Linked DNA regions of Homo sapiens: region 1 is linked to region 2. Evidence: promoter capture Hi-C in 16 types of primary human blood cells and fetal thymus (Javierre and others, 2016). All regions are on one chromosome and are shown on one strand. Each heading gives the region's core, a stretch centred on a gene start or on the middle of the fragment in contact. The rest is flanking DNA. Distances are from core to core; before and after follow the strand shown. Region 1 overlaps RGS3 (regulator of G protein signaling 3). Region 2 holds the start of HDHD3 (haloacid dehalogenase like hydrolase domain containing 3).

Region 1 (3,380 bases), core at 665-3,164, 200 kb after region 2:
CAGGGCGGCCTTCCCAACACTCCCCTGGACTCTCTCACAGCACCCGAGGGTTTTCCTTCACACTGCAGATCTTGGTTTCTGTTTATCCTGTGTTTATGGCAGTGATGACTTGGTCAATATCCCTCCTTCCTCTCTAGTTCGTAGGCTCCACAAGGACAAGGATCATGTCTTTCTTATTCCTTCCTTTATGCACAGAGCCTAGAACAGTGTCTGGATGCAGAACTATTCCATGAGGATTTGTTGAATACTTGCCTGTGGCATCTCAACTCAGGAAAGCGGTCAGGGCTGGCAGAGTGGACTGCGAGTCATCAGTGGCCAGATGGTGCAGATAGCGATTGTGGCCTGGGGAGTGGGTGGGTTCCCAAGGGAGTGGACAGGACTGTGATGAGAGGGGCCCTGCAGCAGGTCCTGATGGACAGGCAGACAGGCCCATGAGAGGGTGGAGAAGGGGTGAAATTCAGGGAGGGAGATGTTAAGGCCACGCTGTGCTGGAGTGACCATGGCTATCGTTTATTGAGTGCTCATGGGTGCCCTCATGGTGCTGAGCTCTGGATACTCATTAGCTCATTTATTCCTCTAACAACATTGTGAGGAGATTCTAGAAATCCTATGTTATGGCTAAGGAAACTGAGGCACAGAAAGGTTAAGCCAAAGGTCACCCAGCAAGTAAGTGTGAAGTTAGTATCTGGAGCTCCCCCTAATGTAAGTACCGCCTCCATCCTCCTGAATTTTGCCAAACCTGCTGTGTTGGAGACAGTGGAGGTAGAGGGGAGAGGAGTATGGCCTGGAGGGTCTCTGAGCTGGTGGCGGAGGAAGGACTGGGGGTGTCAGCCTCTGGGTGGTCAAGAGGCCAGACCTGGAGGAGCTGGGCTGACGCTGAGCCAGGAGAGCTAAGTGTTAGCTGAGCCATCAAGGTTCCTGGAAGCTAGCATTGAGTCAGGGACCTGAGGCTAGGGATCCAGAGCATGCCAAGCTTGAAGGAACAGCCCATCTTGAAAGCCTGGGGGTCCAAGGCAGGGCAGGAATTCTAACAGCCTCTCCCTTTCTCAAAGGACTTTACAGTTCACAGAGTGCCTTCCTGCCCTTTCTCACTTGGTCCCCTTAGGTCTCTGGCACAGGAAGCAGCAGGCATCCTCACCCACTTTCATGGCAGAGAAAACCAAGCTTGGAGTGGGGTAGCTTGGGATCACACAGCTAGCAAATGATGGAGTGAAGATTCCAGTCCAGGTCTTCTGGCTGCATGTCCAGTGCTCTGTCAGTAAAATCCTGGCTGTTAAGGGCCACCCTGAGACAGAGGCAAACCCCAGTTTACACCCCCCCAGTGCAGGAAGTGGTTTTCGAGGGCAGATGCAGAGCCCGGCATCCGTGGTGGCTGTGATGAATCATCGGAGTGAGAGCTGCAGGTTGTCCCTGGGTCAGCAAACCTGGCTGCTCAGTGAGTAGCTGTGTGATGTTGGACAAGTCACTTTCAGCAGCCCACCACTACCCTCAACCCAACATCCGGTGGGCATCTGGGGCCCAGGAGCCAAAGCTGGTATGAGTGTGAACTCTGGGTGTCATAGCTGCCATCCCTCCTTAGCCTATTCTGAGCTCTGGATTGGATTTGGGAGAGGATTTGATTAGGTCCTAAACAGTGACTCCATTTAGAGGGCCTGGTTCATTTCCTGTGTGCTTACAGCAGATGAGACATGGGCAGAATTAACCTGGTCCAGCCAAGCCAAAGAAGTGATGGATGGGAAAGACACAGACCCCCACCTTGGGAGGGTGGGGCAGTGGCTTCCAGCACTCTAGACCCAAGGCCCTGGGTGAGCAAGCTGGTCTTCCTGGGGCGCCCTGGCTGGATTCTTGTTACTTCAGCTGTTGCAACAGCTGTCTCACTGGGTCCCCAGCTGCCTGTACTTCCTCTATCAGAGCAGTCCCCATGCTCCTTCAAACTAGTTGTCTAACCTCTGTTTTTTCTACTTAACTGAGGGCAGAGATTGTGTCTGACTTGTTCCCTGCCGTCCTCCTAGTACCTACCTCAGTGCTTGGAGAATGCATGAATGTATGCGTGCCCCAGTCCTCCCTGCCATCCACACATCCTGCCCACATTCCCCAGAGCAGCTTTGACACAGCACAGCTCTGCCTGTGGCATTTCGTTGCTCACAGGGCAAATCCCATGCCCACCATGTGTTCTGCAACCTCCCCCTCATCTTTGCCTCCCCTCCTGCCCTAATTTTCTCCTACACTTGCCACCCTCCCACCCCTGGGTTTCTCGGGTTTCCTATAATTGCTCCGGAGCTCCCGTCAAACCACTTCCCACCCCAGCTCTCCCAAGAACAGGGGCCTTACCAAACCTGCACGCAGTCCCTGTTCATACAGACCTGCCTGGGAGCACAGAAAGAACCATGAGCTCTGGGCCCTGTTCGCCAGCATCTGCTGATGTGGGATGCACCCAGGTGCGGGGCCTCAGGCAGCACTCCAGGCTGTTCCTCCTCCTTCTACAGCCCTCTGAGGTCCCCAAACACTTGTGTGTAAGGCTCCAAGGAAACAGGGAGAGACCCTGGGCAGGAGATATGAGTTCTAATCCTGCATCAGCCTCTCATTCTTAGGTAATTCCTTTACCCTCTGGGACCCCAGGTTTCTTATCTCTAAAATAAGACCACTGATAGCTCCCATTGTATCAAAAGCTTTTCCAGGGCCAGGCACTGTGAGGAGACTCAAATAGTCCTGTGAGTCCAGTATGATATCACTGGGCTCAATTCCAGATGAGGAAACGGAGGCTCTGAGGTGTTGAGAGGCTTGGCCAGAGTTGCACAGCTAAAAAGTGGCCCCATTGGGATCAAAATCAGCCTGGCTCGGGTATCTGAGCACATAACCACTGGGCCCTCTGAGAACCCTTCCATCTTGGTTAGTTTCTCGGCTGATCTCTCTGGGTAGGTGCCCTCTGGGGGCAGTACCCCTGCCTGAGTGGCACTTCCCCTCCTGGCTTTGTTTGGTTTGGCCTCGATTTAGAACAGGGTTGGCAGAGGCAGGCTGACTTGCATTTCTGGTTTTGGGTTTGTTGCTGCACTTTCCCCAAGGGGTGGGCGGGCTCTGACTGACAGTCACCACTGGGACAGGCCTGGGCCCCACCCTCACCACCCAGGAAAGGGGAAATGCGGCCCGCTCCCCACTCAGTGCCACTCTGTGCCACTCCGTGCCAGGCCCTGAGGGCACCCGGTTGCTGCTTCCTTCCGTCTTTCCCCAAGGACTATCAGAGGCAGGTGGCTGGGCCAGGGGGTGGGTCGGGGGGAGGTCTGGCCATGTGGTAGGGTGATAGGACTGAGGGGCCCCAGGGAGCTGGCTGCAGGGCAGTTTGTTTCTCCTGATGGAGAATGCTCCCTGGTGGGTGGGGCGAT
Region 2 (3,173 bases), core at 1-2,500:
GAGGCTGGTGCAGCTTCTTTCCCCAGACAGAGCTGATCCCAGACAAGGCCGTCCCCTTGAAACCTGAGGGGCCAGAGTTCAAAGTACGGCTAAGTTGATACTTAGGGAAGGGCGTCACTGGTAAATCTGGGGGAGCCTTGGAGGAAGTTTGTCCAGGAAATGAATTAAGGAGACTCATCCAAAGATCCTCTCATTTTGCAGGTGGGTAGACAGAGACCCAGTGAGGGGCAGTAATTTACCCCCAAATCACACAGGGAGTCACATTGGCACAGCTAAGACTAGAGCAGAGGGCTCTGGCTCCTGACCCACGGCTTTTTTTTTTTTTTTTTTTTTTTTTTGAGGCGGAGTTTCGTTCTTGTTGCCCAGGCTGAAGTGCAATGGCGCGATCTCGGCTCACTGCAACCTCCGCCTCCCAGGTTCAAGCGATTCTCCTGCCTCAGCCTCCCAAGTAGCTGGGATTACAGGCATGCGCCACCATCCCCGGCTCCTTTTTTTTTTGTATTTTTAGTAGAGACGGGGTTTCTCCATGTTGGCCAGGCTGGTCTCGAACTCCCGACCTCAGCCTCCCAAAGTGTTAGGATTACAGGCGTGAGCCACTATACCCGGCCGGCTTTTTTTCTTTTTTTTTTTTTTTGAGACAGAGTCTCACTCTGTCACCCAGGTGTACAGTGGTGCGATCTCGGCTCACTGCAACTTCCGCCTCCCGGATTCAAGCGATTCTCCTTCCTTAGCCTCCAGAGTAGCTGGGACTACAGGCGCGCGCCACCACACCTGGCTAATTTTTGTATTTTTAGTGGAGACGGGGTTTCAACTATGTTAGCCAGGCTGGTCTCGAACTCCCGAACTCGTGATCCTCCCCCGCCCCACCCCGCCCCCCGGCCTCCCAAAGTGCTGGGATTACGGTAAAGGCGTGAGCCACCGCGCCCGGCAGGGCTTTTTCGATTTCTAAAACCGCGGGTTTGGGGCTCTGCGCTGCAGGCACGAACTGCTCACCTTTTCTCCCCACCTCCAGGGCTCGGGAAAGGCGAAGTCCAGGAGCCCGGACCTGACGCAGAATGTCTATAGCTGCCGTCGGCAGCGTGAGCTGGGGCGGCGGTCCTAGGGGCCTTGGCCGCGGCCGACCCCTTGGGTCCCCTTCTCAGCTGTAGGGCGTCCACGGCTCCGGGCCGGTTCCTGGGCCCAGGACCCACCTGACTCACAAGGAAGCAGATTGAAAACGCAGCCGCAAGGCCCGCGAGCTCGGGCGGAGGTGCGCAAGCGCCGGGCGGTGGGGCGGGGATCGCGCGGGCCGCCCCTCCCTACCATCCCGACCCGCCTCTGTCCCCGCCCCGTCCCCGCCCTTATCCCCCTCACCTTCGCCCTCTCCCGCCCCATCTCCCGTCGCCCTCGCCGTCCCCTCTCCCTCCTTCGTCTCACTGTGCACCTCTCTGCGCCCCTGTCACCCGCCTTCACTGCGCGCCTCCGTTACCCTGCACCATCTACGCCCCTTATTCCCTCCCCGCACCCTCTGAGGTTCCCCAGCCCGCACCCTTCCGCTCCGCAGCCCCCGTTACCAGCACCTTCTCCGCCCTGTCTGCGCACCCCCTGCCCGCCACACCGCCGCTCCTCACCGCTGTCTCCGCTCCCCATCCCCAACCCCGGCTCCTGGCCTCCTTTGGATCGGGAAACCCCCGAGAAGTACCCAGGTTGAGTGGGAGGAGGGGAGTTGGGACCCAGCCTGGCTTGCTTAGTGTTGTGTGAACCTGGGCAAGGCCCAGCCCCTCTCTGGTCTCAGGGTCCCCAGTTGGTATTGGAGGGAATTGCTTTCAGTTGGAAACTTGTTAAATCCAAGATAACTTGGTGAGGGTAGAGTCCGCTGCAGTAACCTGCTTTTTTATTCTTTCTCTTTTTTTTTTTTTGAGACGGAGTCTCCCTCTGTCGCTCAGGCTGGAGTGCAGTGGCGCGATAGCCCACTGCAACCCCCGCCTCCCAGTTTCTTGCGATTCTCCTGCCTCAGACTCCCCAGTAGCTGGGATTACAGGTGTGTGCCACCACACCCAACTAATTTTTGTATTTTTAGTAGAGACAGGGTTTCGCCGTGTTGGCCTGGCTAGTCTTGAACTCCTGACCTCAGGTGATCCGCCCACCTCAGCCTCCCAAAGTGCTGGGATTACAGGCATGAGCCACCGCACCTGGCCTCTTTTTGTTTTTAAGAACCCTGTGGTACCATCCTGGCTAACACGGTGAAACCCTGTCTCTGCTAAAAATACAAAAAATTAGCCGGGCATGGTGGCAGGTGCCTGTAGTCCCAGCTACTCGGGAGGCTGAGGCAGGAGAATGGCATGAACCCGGGAGGCGGAGCTTACAGTGAGCCAAGATTCTGCCACTGCACAATATTTGCCTGGGCAAAGAGCGAGACTGTGTCCCCAAAAAAAAAAAAAAAAAAAAAGATCCCTGTGGTAAGAGCCTGGAATCCTAACCACTAGACCACCAGGGAGCTTTTTTATTCTTTTGAAGAATAAAAAAAGAGTTTTATCTTTGTTTGCAAAAGTAATGTATGTTGGCTGGGCGCGGTGGCTCACGCCTGTAATGCCAGCACTTTGGGAGGCTGAGGTGGGTGGATCACCTGAGGTCAGGAGTTCAAGACTAGCCTGGCCAACACGGTGAAACCCCGTCTCTACTAAAAATACAAAATTAGGCGAGGTGGTTCATGCCTGTATTCCCAGCTACTTGGGAGGCTGAGGAAGGAGAATCGCTTGAACCGGGGAGGTGGAGGTTGCAGTGAGCCAAGATCAGGCTACTGTATTCCAGCCTGGGTAACAAGAGCAAAACTCCATCTCAAAAAAATAAAAAAATAAAAAAATAATAAATAAATAAGGTATGCATGTAATGCATGTTAGTCTCAAAAAACTAAAAAATACAAACATATGAGAGTTGGCCATGCAGAGGGGAAGGATCTGAGTGATGGTTAAGGGACCCCCTGATGCAAAGGCCTCCAGGCAAGAAAGTTTTTTTTCCGAACCAAAGAGACACTGAGGAACTATAGGAATGTTGCTAGCCAGGGGGTTTGGGCCAAAGAGGCTGGGGAGGTACCGGAGGGGAAGCTTTGAGATACTTCTGTGCCTGTGCTCTGTTCCTCTTTAGTCTCATCACCTTGCACTATGACCTTAGGCAAGACAGGTCATAAGACAGCC

What was found. The method cuts DNA at HindIII sites, captures the fragments that hold promoters and counts their contacts. A CHiCAGO score of 5 or more calls a contact.
Region 1: a fragment that was not itself captured here is called in contact with the fragment with the promoter of HDHD3 in region 2 in 1 of 17 cell types (erythroblasts); the score reaches 5.7 in erythroblasts.

What each region holds. Positions count from the first base shown.
Region 1 is chr9:113,577,765-113,581,144 of GRCh38, forward strand. The region is part of intron 17 of RGS3 (regulator of G protein signaling 3); the gene reads left to right. Among named protein-coding and RNA genes, the nearest start is that of RGS3, 120 kb to the left of the region's middle. RefSeq lists an enhancer at 1,357-1,446. The HindIII fragment of the contact is 1,505 bases long and covers 1,163-2,667 here.
Region 2 is chr9:113,375,736-113,378,908 of GRCh38, forward strand. It overlaps HDHD3 (haloacid dehalogenase like hydrolase domain containing 3), which reads right to left and starts at 1,251. Exons shown (of 3, transcript NM_001304509.2): 1 at 994-1,251. RefSeq lists a silencer at 1,103-1,622. The HindIII fragment of the contact is 9,890 bases long and covers 1-3,081 here.